Regions from separate parts of the Homo sapiens genome. Here regions 2 and 3 are each linked to region 1. The links are contacts of gene promoters, found by promoter capture Hi-C in blood cells and fetal thymus (Javierre and others, 2016). All regions are on one chromosome and are shown on one strand. The core of a region is centred on a gene start or on the middle of the fragment in contact, and the rest is flanking DNA. Distances in the headings are between cores, read along the strand shown.

What was found. Contacts are between HindIII fragments. The CHiCAGO score rates a contact against its expected background, and 5 or more counts as called.
Region 2: a contact is called between a fragment that was not itself captured here and the fragment with the promoter of HOXC-AS2 in region 1, in 2 of 17 cell types (total B cells and naive B cells). The highest score is 7.1, in total B cells.
Region 3: a contact is called between a fragment that was not itself captured here and the fragment with the promoter of HOXC-AS2 in region 1, in 1 of 17 cell types (total B cells). The highest score is 5.1, in total B cells.

Annotation. Positions count from the first base shown.
Region 1 is chr12:53,994,661-53,998,565 of GRCh38, forward strand. HOXC-AS2 (HOXC cluster antisense RNA 2) reads right to left here and starts at 2,125. Exons shown (of 3, transcript NR_047505.1): 1 at 2,010-2,125; 2 at 1,173-1,249; 3 at 548-858. RefSeq lists an enhancer at 557-1,125. The HindIII fragment of the contact is 15,520 bases long and covers 1-3,905 here.
Region 2 is chr12:54,286,148-54,290,052 of GRCh38, forward strand. It overlaps HNRNPA1 (heterogeneous nuclear ribonucleoprotein A1), which reads left to right. Exons shown (of 11, transcript NM_031157.4): 11 at 1-940. Among named protein-coding and RNA genes, the nearest start is that of HNRNPA1, 7.4 kb to the left of the region's middle. The HindIII fragment of the contact is 6,133 bases long and covers 1-3,905 here.
Region 3 is chr12:53,723,846-53,727,750 of GRCh38, forward strand. CALCOCO1 (calcium binding and coiled-coil domain 1) reads right to left here and starts at 3,607. Exons shown (of 15, transcript NM_020898.3): 1 at 3,559-3,607; 2 at 1,242-1,421; 3 at 800-902. The coding sequence starts at 1,397. It overlaps LOC105369774 (a long non-coding RNA gene), which reads left to right and starts at 2,734. Exons shown (of 3, transcript XR_944973.3): 1 at 2,734-2,804. RefSeq lists enhancers at 1,183-2,382, 3,700-3,759. The HindIII fragment of the contact is 202 bases long and covers 1,854-2,055 here.

The DNA of each region.
Region 1 (3,905 bases), core at 875-3,374:
TGGAAGGTCTTTCTGTCTTTTCTTTTCCGCGTAAAAGGTCCTTTCTTTTTTCTCTCTTTCGGATATACCTGGATTTGGTCCAGACCAGGTTGCCCGCGGGAGGGCCCCGCGAGCGGCAGCGCGCGAGGGAGGGAGAGAGAGGGAGGGCGAGAAGGAGGGAGGGAGGGAAGGAGGGCGGGCGGCGGCGGCCGTGGTGGCCGGGGCTTCCCTCCCCAGGCGGGAGCCGCCTGTCCTGTATCTATGGCCGTGGGGAGCGAAGGACCAGGTAACGAAGGCGCTTCCGAAGCGGGATTGGACCAAACCAGAGGGACAGAGTCTTCTGGGTCTCTCTGCCTGAGGCCCTGGAGGGAGAGAAGGTAGGGAGATCGGCGCCCGCCGGGCCTGGCAAAGAGGCCTCGGGAAATGTTGAACCTGTATGTGATCTCAGGCTCACACTCATGTTGTGGGTCTGTCTGCCTCAGGAGATGCGGTTTGCCTTTCTGTCTGAGACGCCCCAAACCCTGAGCTCTCCTTCCCAAGGCTGGAAAAAAAATCGGGAAAAACGGCGGAATTTGCACTTTCATTCATTGGGTTATCTGCAACTGAGAGGGGCTGGTTAAGGCGTCCCCAAGTTGGAAGGGCGCTTTGCTTCTGTTTTCTGGATGCAGAGTCCTCTGACTCCCTCTGCCACGGGCTGAGTTTCCGGCTCCAGGTTCGCGTGTCGCCCTGAGGTTTGAGGCCAGACAGCTCGCAGTCGGGCAGGGAGGGCGGGGGAGAGACGAGCGGCTCTGGCCCCTTAATTGTACTTCGGGCTCGTATTGTCTCTCCTTTCGCCACCTCCGCTTCCTCAGTCTGGGCTCCAAAGTCACTGCAAATTTCCTTGCGACACATACATCACACAAAAGATCAGGTAACAAGGCGCTCAGGGCCACTGGGGCTCCGGGCAGGGCAGGGAGCGGCTCTAGCTCTGGGGCGGCTCCCCCTCCAGCCACTCCCAGGCTGGAAAACCAGACCGCGTTGGGGGAGCCGGAAATAGCCCCGCTTGCTGCGGAGCGTCAGGGCGGGGGCGCCGGCGGGAATGCAGGCCCGGCAGGCCGTGGCTTTGAGAGAGCCACGTTCACAGGCCCTGGGGATTTCACTCCTGCTGGGCCTCGGGACCTGACTCCTGGTGTGTAGGGATCCCAGATACCCACCTTGGGTGGGGGCAGGACGCGGGTTTCCTCGCGGCAGGCCAAGAGAACTCAGTTTCTGCTTCCAGCGCAGGCCTTAGCTAGGAGGAGTTGTGTGTGGGTGTGTTTTTCCCAACAAAGAGGGATCAGGAGAGAGAAGGGGGGAAAGTAGAGGGGAACCAGGGAGGGGGCGGGGAGGGGAAGAGGGCAGTGGAGAGGTGAAATGAGCCCATTTCAGGGGGAGAAGGAAAATGAAAGCAAATGGAGTACGGCCTTCTCCGCGCAGGGCGGGTGCTGACGAGCCGGGAGCGGGCTCCCTGCCTGCGGCAGCCGGGATGGCCCGCTGGGGACACCGGAGAAAGCCTGTTTTAAATTTAATCCGAACTTGACGGTGTGGATTGAACCGGAGGGAATTTAAATCACTAAAAGGAAGGCGCGGGGCAGGGGGAGGGGACGACTCTAACCTGTCTATCTTTCTGTCTGTCCTTCCCACGGTGCTAGTTTGGTTGTGGCCGCAGCTGCCCAGGTTTCAGGTGATGGAGTAAGGGTGCCCCTCCCCCTCAGGGGTCTCTCCTGTGCCCAGTGAAGTCTTTTGGGGGTGGGAGGGAACTCTAAGAACCAGAGTGAATGCACAGCTGCGAGCTAAAGCTGGGGTTTCCCCCTCCCCAACAAGAACTCCCAGTGGCCTCCAGTCCCTGGGTTTGCCCCAGCGGTGCTGAGGAAAATTGAAGGGAGTATGTGGGTGAGGGGAAGTCTGGAGTATGGCAGAAGATTCAGAAGGAGTAACTGAACCCCAGGAAGACAGACCTTCCTTCTTGGTGCCCCTATATCCTTTGTGCCCCGCCCCCCGCACCTACAAACCTGGATTTGAGGGAAATCTGCAGGTCCGCTTCAAAGCCCTGGTCTGCCACCCACACCCCTCCAAATGTGGAGAATGGGGGCTACAGGCCACATGCAGTTGTGGACCTGCGGAACCTCCGCCCAGTGGACTCCGGAACTCCCAGCCTCTTCTAGCCCCCCTCCCCAAGGCCGCCTCTCTCCGAAGGGCGCAGGGAAAATGAGGCATTGGCTGGGAAGGGGCTGTGGGCGAGGCCTGCTTCCTGATCCACAGCCGTGCCTGCCTCTGAGTGGGAAGAGTTCGGAGGTCATAGTCCCAGAAAATAAAATAAAATAAAGGAAAGCGACAATCTCCTTGGTTTCACAGGGGATTTCACGGCAGCAGGGATCCCGCCGGTGAGCCTCACTGCCCGCTGCTGCCGCCTCCGCAGAGTGGGCAGGCAGGGTGCGCAGGCAGCTCAAGAGTTGAAAAGAAGGCGGTGTTCAAAGGGGGTAGGAGAGAAGGGGGCATCTCTTTACGGCCCCAATGTCTATTTGAGGAACTCTCCCAAATAGCAGAGGCCCATAGGGGAGGCTCCTTAGGGACTCTTTCCTCCAGGAAAGCTGAGGCTGGGGCAGCTGGCCTTGTCGCTTGGAGAAGACGCAAAGGAAGAGCAGGGGTGAAACCTCTTTCCTCTTCTGTTTCTTCGCTCCTTGAATAGAGCAGGGCTCAGCCCCCAGCTGCCTAAGCGGCTGTCTGGACCAATATGGGGTTCTATATCCCTGAGGCCTAGAGTACCCATCCGAGCAAGTCTCCTGGGAGGGGCAGGAGAGGAGCCCTCTTCCGCCTTTGTGTCCAGACAGAAGTGGCCGCCGCGCCCGGAGCCGGTCCCGCGGCAAAGGCCCGGCAAGCCAGCGGGCTGCACAATGCCACGGCTGCTCCGCCAGCTCGCCCCTGCCCCGTCCTGCCTGCCTACGGCCGCCCTTCCTCCGCCTCCCTCTCTGCACGCCTGCCTTTCCCGGCTCTCCTATCTCTTTTCATCTTGCCTTCCTTCTTTTAATTCTCCCCCTTTTTTCCCTTTATTCTAATGCTCCGCTTCCTTCTTTCCTCTCTTGGGCCTGACTCCATGTTTCAGTTGGTCTGTCCCAGGCTGTCTCGGGTTCAGTCTCTCTCAGGCTCTGTCCCCTGATGTCCTCTTGGTCTCAGTCTGGCCCCGGGCCCCGCTGAGGGCTAAACGTCTCTGCTCATCGCTGCCAGCAGCCGCCCAAGTGCCGGGCCCGGTCCTCAGCCGCCCTGGGCTGGGGGAGGTGCTGGCTGTACTGGGGATTTGGAGAAAGCCTCGGCAGGGGGACTGGAACCTCCTGTCTTTTCCTTGAACTAGTGAGGGAGATTTTTTGATTGACAGCTAACCCAACTCCATCAAGGCCAAAGAGATATTCTGTTTCTTGTTGTAAGTTGGGCTTCCCAGCTCAGTCCAGCTCAAGGGAGGGGAAGACAGTGGCGCCAAGGAGCTGAACCCCCAAGTCGCCTCTCCCCAACCAAACACATCCCTCATCCTCCCCCATGAGTTGAAATCCCAGCCCCGTTAAGCCGCCCCCTTAGACCAAAAAGGAAAAGGAAAGAGCCAGAGAGGGGGAGGAGCAGAGACTTGGGAGGGGGCCTATGGAGCTGGGGTCGGTGCTGCCAGCTGCAGCTGTCTCCCCCTAACTTTCCTCCCCCCGGAACACACATACTATACACACTCTCCCCAGCCCCTCTCCACCCCAGAGGAGAAAGATCCATAGAGACGCAGGAGAAAACTAGCCCCCGCCCCTACCCCTGGCGTTTGGTCCCCTCCTGGGGACAGGAGAGGGAAAGAAGGGCAGGCGTGGCCGGGTCTGGGAAGACTCCTACCCTGCTGCCTCCAGAGCCTGCATCTCAACCTCAGCTCCTGTCTATTT
Region 2 (3,905 bases), core at 863-3,362, 290 kb after region 1:
GGCACGCTCCATGAAAGCTAGGAGGGAGTGAAATATCAGTGATCATCGCAAGGAAGGAGGCAGACAAGAGTAAGGCACACCTGACTCTTAGGACTAGCAGTCAGAACCAGGAGGAAAGGTTTTATTGCTATGCGGGTAGGTAAGAACAGATTTTACTTACATCCATATAGTTACTTAAAGTCCAGTTTTCTGTTAAACATTTTTCTTAATATATTGAGCCAAAACTAGTCCAGTTAAGCTGAACTTGGTTTTTCTGGAGATGAATTGTTTTAAATTGACACCCTATTGATGGCTCCCAGTTGAAGGAAGTGAGCACATTATTTGTACTGTGAATATAAATTTTTGCCCTTTTATTTATCTTCCTTTGACCCATTTCCTTAAAATAATGGCTCAAAGTAATAGACTTCCCCAAATGGTGGGGGGATGGGTGGGTTATTAATGGGAGGTATGGGGGGTTTAGCTTGAGATGGGACTTGGTCTTAGAGCTAGTTCTAAAGGTTGTTTACTTTTCTAGGGAGGAGTCTGCTACTAGTCTTATCAGCTCTTAAAAACAGAAACTCATCTGTCCAAGTTCGTGGCAGAAAGGTAAGTTTTTACAAATTAGTGCTCAGCAAAAGAATGCCCTGCGTTCCCAAAGTAAAAGAATGACAAGCTGTACCTTAAACCAAAACACTTCGTAATCTCATCCAATTGCAAAAAGAGTTATTAGCCAACCAGGTATTCCCAGTAGTGACAGTGGATATAACTGTGTAGTCATTCACCTCTGCTTATATGAATACTTTACAACCTCTTTTGCCTTTTGCAGGAACGTCCTTGTGAAGACCTTTATCTGAGCCACTGTACTTCGTTATCACTGCCATGCAGTTTACATGAGCTGTTCTGCAGCTCAAATTCCATTTTGTGAATGGGTTTTTTTTTTTAATAAACTGTATTTAACTTAGTTCTGCTTGTTTTGTCCTCCTTTGTGATATCTATGGTTAATAACATGTTGAAATTCAGGTTAGAGAGGATATGGTTGATTCTAATGTGAATTTCTATATTTAGATTCATCCCATTCAGCTTCATGGTTTAATGAAAATAGAAATGGGTTCTCACTACAGGAGTAATTCTTGGCTCACTATAAGTAAACTTTACTATTGATCCAATTGAGCATGTCCTTTTTCTAGCTCCCCTGGCAAGGGAAAATCAAGTTGTAGCACTGCCATTGAGCTCAGTATGTCTCTATTGGGACTTACGCTCACCATCTGTTGCAGAAGGACATAATGGATTTCATCTTTGGCAAACAAGTTGGGCTTATTGGCCAGCTGTCTCATACTTCAGTAGAATTCTCAAGCCAGGAGTAAGAAAGTGAACTGAATGAGAGGCAAGACTTAGCCTCTCAAAGATAGCCTAAAAATGTAAGGACTATTTTGGAAGCAATAATTGTACCCTCTAGCAAATGCTTAGGTTCTTGCGTGTGTGTGTGTGTGTGACGAAGTGTCCCTCTGTCACCCAGACTGGAGTGCAGTGACACTCTGCTCACTGCAACCTCTGCCTCCCAGGTTCAAGCAATTCTGCCTCAACCTCCCGTGTAGGTGGGACTAGAGGTGCCTGGCTAATTGTATTTTTAGTAGAGACACAGCGTTTCACCGTATTGCCCAGGCTGGTCTTGAACTCCTGGCCTTAGGTAATAAACGCCCACCTTGGCCTTCCAAAGTGCTGGGATTAGAGGTGTGAGCCACCGTGCCTGGCCACTAAACTGTTTCTGTTATTTTCAAGGAAAGTTTATCCAGCCTCAGTTTTGAGCCTAACAAAAGTGGAGGTAGGATTCTTGGGAAATTTTTGCCTTTTAACACCCATGCTGTTTTGAAACAACTGTATATGGGACTAAGTTCCATTAGCCTTTTGATACTTGGGGGAAGTAATGTCAGGGGTCTCAGTTTGTGACTTGGCATTTGCTAGAGGTTTTTATTGTAGACAATCAAATTTCCTTGAAGGGAAAGGAAAACTCCTAAGGATAGTTTCCTAAAAGCATTCCTATTGAAGAGAAACATTGTTTCAGTCCATGTACTTTGCTATATACTTTATTATAATACTGTGAAAAGTAAATTCCATTATTTTCTAAATGAGGAAATAGGCTGAAGATAAAATCCTGTCCCAAGTTCCTGCAACCACTGGATCATATAACTCAGATTGCTCTATTTTCAAACTATGTTCCACCTTGTTTAGGTCAGCACGCTGAACAAGTATGTGTGTGTATAAGACCTCACTAGTGATTTTCATGAGAGCAGGGGGATCTGACGTCTCTTAGGTAAACTAATTAAATTTCTGAACAGCTAGCCCAAGCCCCTGCCTTTGCAGCTTGAAATGTGGAAACAAGATGGCCGGGCGCGATGGCTCATGCTTGTAATCCCAACACTTTGGGAGGGCGAGGCGGGTGGATCACGATGTCAGGAGTGCCAGACCAGCCTGGCCAACATAGTGAAACCCCATCTCTACTAAAAATACAAAAATTGGCCAGGCGCGGTGGCTCATGCCTGTAATCCTACCTGGGAGGCCAAGGTGGGCGGGTTGCCAGCCTGGGCAACACGGTGAAACCCCGTCTCTGCTAAAAAAGTACAAAAAAATAGCCGGGCGTGGCAGCGGGCGCCTGTAGTCCCAGCTACTCAGGAGGGTGGGGCAGAAGAATTGCTTGAACCGGGGAGTCGGAGGTTGCAGTCAGCCGAGATCGCGCTACTGCTCTCCAGCCTGGGTGACAGAGCGAGACTCTGTCCCCCCTGCCCAAAAAAAATACAAACATTAGCGGGACATGGTGGCGCACGCCTATAATCGCAGCTACTCTGGAGGCTGAGTCAGGAGAATTACTTGAACCCAGGAGGCAAAGGTTGCAGTGAGCCGAGATCGTGCCACTACACTCTAGCCTGGGCGACAGAGCAAGACTCCGTCTCAAAAAAAAAAAAGAAAGAAATGTGGAAACATTGCCAGGTACAGTAGCTCAACACCTGTAATCCCAGCACTCTGGGAGGCCTAGGCGGGAGGGTCACTTGAGGTCAGGAGTTTGAAACCAGCCTGGCCAACATGGTGAAAAGCCCGTCTCTACTAAAAATGCCAAAATTAGCTGGGCATGGTGGCAGGTGCCTGTAATCCCAGCTACTTGGGAGGCTGAGGCAGGAGAATTGCTTGAACCTGGGAAGCGGAGGTTGCAGTGAGCCAAGACCCTACTGCTGCACTCCAGCCTGGGCGACAGAGCGAGAGACGCTGTCTCAAAAAAAAACAAAACAAAACAAAAAAAAACAATGTGGAAACATTGGATGCCTCATGCCTGTAATCCTAGCACTTTGGAAGGCCGAGGTGTGCAGATTGCTTGAGCCCAGGAGTTGGAGACCAGCCTGACCAACATGGTGAAACCCATCCCTACTAACAAATATTAGCCAGGCATGGTGGCATGCGCCTTTAGTCCTAGCTACTCAGGAGGCTAAGGTGGGCTGAGATCAGCCCACTGCACTCAAGCCTGGGCGACAGAGACTCCATCTCAAAAAAAAAAGGAAGTGCTTCAAGTTGTTTTTGTTCCCTAAACTTAGGCTAGAGACCACACTCCATATCTCCCTAATCACTGTGCTGCTTTTAGGTCTCAGTATCTGTGGTGTCCATTTTTGTTTGAGACAGTCTCGCTCTGTCGCCCAGGCTGGAGTACAGTAGCATGATCTTGGCTCACTGTAGCCTCGAACTCCCAGGCTCAAGCAATTCTCTCACCTCAGCTTCCAACATAGCTGGGACCACAGGCATATGCCACTGTACCCACCCACTAATTTTTTTTTTGTAGAAACAGGGTCTCCCTATATTGTCCAGGCTCGTCTCAAGCTCCTGGGCTCAAGCAGTCCTCCCACCTCAGCCTGCGGTGTCCAGATCAGAACTTGGATGTAAGG
Region 3 (3,905 bases), core at 705-3,204, 270 kb before region 1:
CTCGGTGTTCCATATACTGTTTCTTCTCTTCTCCACCTCCCACAGGCCATACTCTTCTCCCTCCTTTCTGCCTGTCCCTCTCCTTCCTTTCTTTCCCAAACCCACTGCCCCTCTATCATAATCATAATAATGCTAGTTACCATGTAGTGAGTGCGTACCATGTACCAGACACTGTGGTAACACTTTTTATTTTATTTTATCTTGAGACAGAGTCTTGCTCCATCGCCCAGGCTGGAGTGCAGTGGCGCGATCTTGGCTTGTTGCAACCTCTGCCTCCCGGGTTCAAGAGATTCTCCTGCCTCAGCCTTGTGAGTAGCTGGGACTACAGGCATGCACCACCACGCCTGGCCTGCAGCTTTCATTTTAAATCCTCGTAATGTCCCTATAAGCCAGGCATCCCCTTTTACTGTTAAGATAACCGACACAGGGAGGTTATGTAATTTGCCCAAGGCCAAACAGCTTGTAAGTGTTAGAGGTGAGATTTGAACCCAGGTCTTTCCCTCTTCTCACCACATAATTCTACCTTTCCCTCTTCCTTACTCCCCCATTTTTCCTTCTTTGGGTAGGACAGGGGACTAGATGCCCTCTGAAGTTCCTTCTGTTTCTATGTCCCTGATTCTGCGATAATCCCGTGATTCTCTATCCGCTGAGCGCTGTTGGATATATTCTCATTATATTTATTTTCGTTTATTTTTCCTTGTCCTTTGTGCCTAACTTTTAATGTTTCTGAGCCCACTACCTTCTTTCAAACCTCCACTCCCTTGGCTCCTCTCTCCCAATTTTCCATCTTCCCTTGTACCTTGGAACTGGACACTGGTGTGAATGGGGGAACCATCAGTTGTACTTTCAGGCACGGAAGACCACACAAATGTGTGGTAATCCCGAACACAGGCAGCCTCCACCTGTGAAAGCCCAAGGTTGGAGAAAGGTATGGTCATGGAACTACCTTCTATGGATGGAAGAAAGGGCTGAGGGGTTGAATAAGGGGGGCAGGATGGAGCTACAGTGGCAACAATGACAAGAGAAAGGGAAAGTGGAGGGACACTAATGTGTCAGTAAAGAACAAGGCTAAGATGGAGAAAATATGTGCTTTGGTTATACAGGCGGCCTCTGTCATCTGTGACATCTTTCTCTCTTCTTCTCTATCAACCTGAGGTTGAGAATCCAAGAGCCCAATCATTCCCCTTATTCCAACCAACTCACAGCCCATAAACCTAAGCCAAAAGGGGTTCCAGAGATACCTTGAAGATGCCAATCCAGTCACTGGCACTGGGCATGGTGCCTGGGGGAAGGGTGTAGTGACATTCCACCTTGGTGTTGGGGATGTAGGTCCGGGCTACATTGAGAAAGTTGACTCCACCACGGGATGGTGCCCGGCTTAGTGGTGATTCTTCCATCCTGGCCTTGAGATATCTGTCCTCCTATGAAAGAAAGGGTTGATAGCCTAAAGTCTTTCCAGTCCACCTCCTTCCCCCCACAGCTCCAGCACCACACACTCACAGCCCCTGCCACTACACCTGGAGATAAGGCATACCTGGTTTCTAGTCCCTGAGGGTTACGGGACATTTTTGAGGTATCACTCTTAGTCTCTAGGACGTAGGTCTGGCCTTCCAAGTCCGTCCCCATCCTGTCTCACACTGTACCCGCTCTGGCTCATAGACCCTTCTGAGGGTTCAGACTTCTCTAATTTTGCTCCCAAAAGGACACTGACGGGGACAGAGCCTGGGATACTGCGACTTGGTCGACAGCCTCCATTTCTCCATCCCATCTCCCACACATCCTGGCTCTTGAATACAAAATCCAACTGAGGTGTGGGGCCCTCTCATTGAGAGAGGTGTCCTTACCTACTCCTAAGCTTGTTGACCCAGCTGTATCCAGGAATGAGTTATGACATCAGAAAGCAGCAACTAATCTCTGAAAGGAATGGTTGAGTTTTCAGAGCTAGAATATGGCTGGGGGTCGAGGGGAACTGAGCCCAAATCCTTAGGCTCCTGAGCTCTCAGCTCTTTTCATCTCTCTGAGCTGCCTACCCCCATGAATTCTAGGGAAGCAGAAAGCTTCTGCTGGCATCCAAGAGACAAAGGGAAGGGGAGGATATAAGGAAAGACAGGTTCTGTCCCTTGACTTATTATTCCAGGAAGTCAAGAATTCTGGAGGCGGCAACTTCAAGGGTGGAGTGAGGCGCTTAGCAGGAACGTGGTGGGGGTGGGGAGATGGAATGTGGGGGCCTGGAGCCAGGAAAGCCCCACCCCAGGGCAGGGAACAGACTAGAAAGTGGGAAGTAAGGGGCCCCAAGAAGTGGAAATGTATATTTAACGTTGAGGAAAGGGGAGATAGTTCAAAAAGAACCTAACATTCTTCTCTCCAGACTGTGCCTGCAGCAGGACTAGAAACCTACTGGTTTCACTTTAGTATTTCTCTCCTCATTTTCTCTCTGCTCCCCTCAGCCTCCATCCTTCCATCTGTTTGTATTGGTAGCTGGAGACACACTACAGGATGGGGTTGAGAGGAAGGGGTGTTCCAAGTTAGCTGGGGAGAGTTAATTGGAAAATATGAGGGTGGGGTGAGGACAGATAACAATAATAACGATCAAAAGAACTCCTCAGTCCAGGGCTGTGAGATGGCCCTCTTATTCATCACTCCTTTCCAGCCCACTAATCTATTTCCTGTGTCACTCACAGCTGACATGTCCAACCAGCCATTGTCACTAGTCATATGCACGCCCCCAAACATCACAAACCCACACCAGGCTGAAGTCCAGGGGACAGGAACTTTAAAAGAAAACAGAAACTCAGTGGATAAAGGTGAGCCAGCAACACAAAAAGGAGCAACTTCTGTCCCCCAAATAGGTAGAACAAAAAGTTTTTTTTAATGTTCATCTCCCTGAAAAATTCCTGGTTGAAACTAATCCATGTTTTCTCCAAATGCAATTCTTCCAGCTTTCTAAGGGTGGGGGTAAATTGTCCCCAAAGATATACCTGGAGAACCCTAAAATACACCCCACAAAGAAAATCCGTAACAGCTGTAAACGTTCTTCATGTCCGAAAGAAAGTTTTGGGCACCTAAGATGTAGGTGTGTAGCCTGATTCAGATGTTCACATGATGGGGCGGAGAGCGGGTGTCCCATCCCCTACTCTGTAGGGCTCTAGAGTTCCTTGACATTCTACACCTTGGAAGGTCCCCCTTCCTCCCCAGGGATTCAGCGTCGTAAAGGCCTTTGGATTTGCGTAGGGGAGAGAGGGAAGACGTGTAGGGGACACGTCTTGCCTGGGAGCGAATAAGCAGATTTCAGCTCCCTTGAAGGGATCAGCTTTATAGAGACGCATTGAGAAGAAGGAGAGGACGACGAGGGGGCGCCCCCCACCCCCAATCAGAGTCCCCTTGAAACCAAGAACTCCCCAAACAGCGGGGGTGGCTTCTCCAGTACGGAAAGGGTTACAACCCAAACGCTCCTGTATTCCCCTTCGACAGTTCCCTTACGTTATCCTTCCCCAAACTGGAAAGTGGGGTGACCCTCCCCTCCCATAAGATCGCCCCCAATTAGGCCAAGTTTCTTACCCAACAGACGGATCAGCTGTTCCCCTCACCTTTCACCAACAACAAAAACAGCACTCCGACTTCTGGAGGGGAGGGAGAAGAGTGGGCGCGAGGGCTTCTGGGGTTTGTGGTTCTTCTGCGCCCTTTTGCCGCTGCGTGCTCGGATCTAGGACTATACATCCCAGAAGGCTGCGCGCAAGGAGGGCGGGGAAGAGGGCGTCCGTGACGGCGGCCTCACCGCGGCATCCTGGGAGGCGTAGTTCTCACTCCTATGACAGAAAACGAGGGTGTGGCCAGCAAAGGACTTCAAGGCCCATGATCCCTTAGGAGGGGGCCGGCTGCATTAGGGGTGGCTGCTGGTTTGTAAC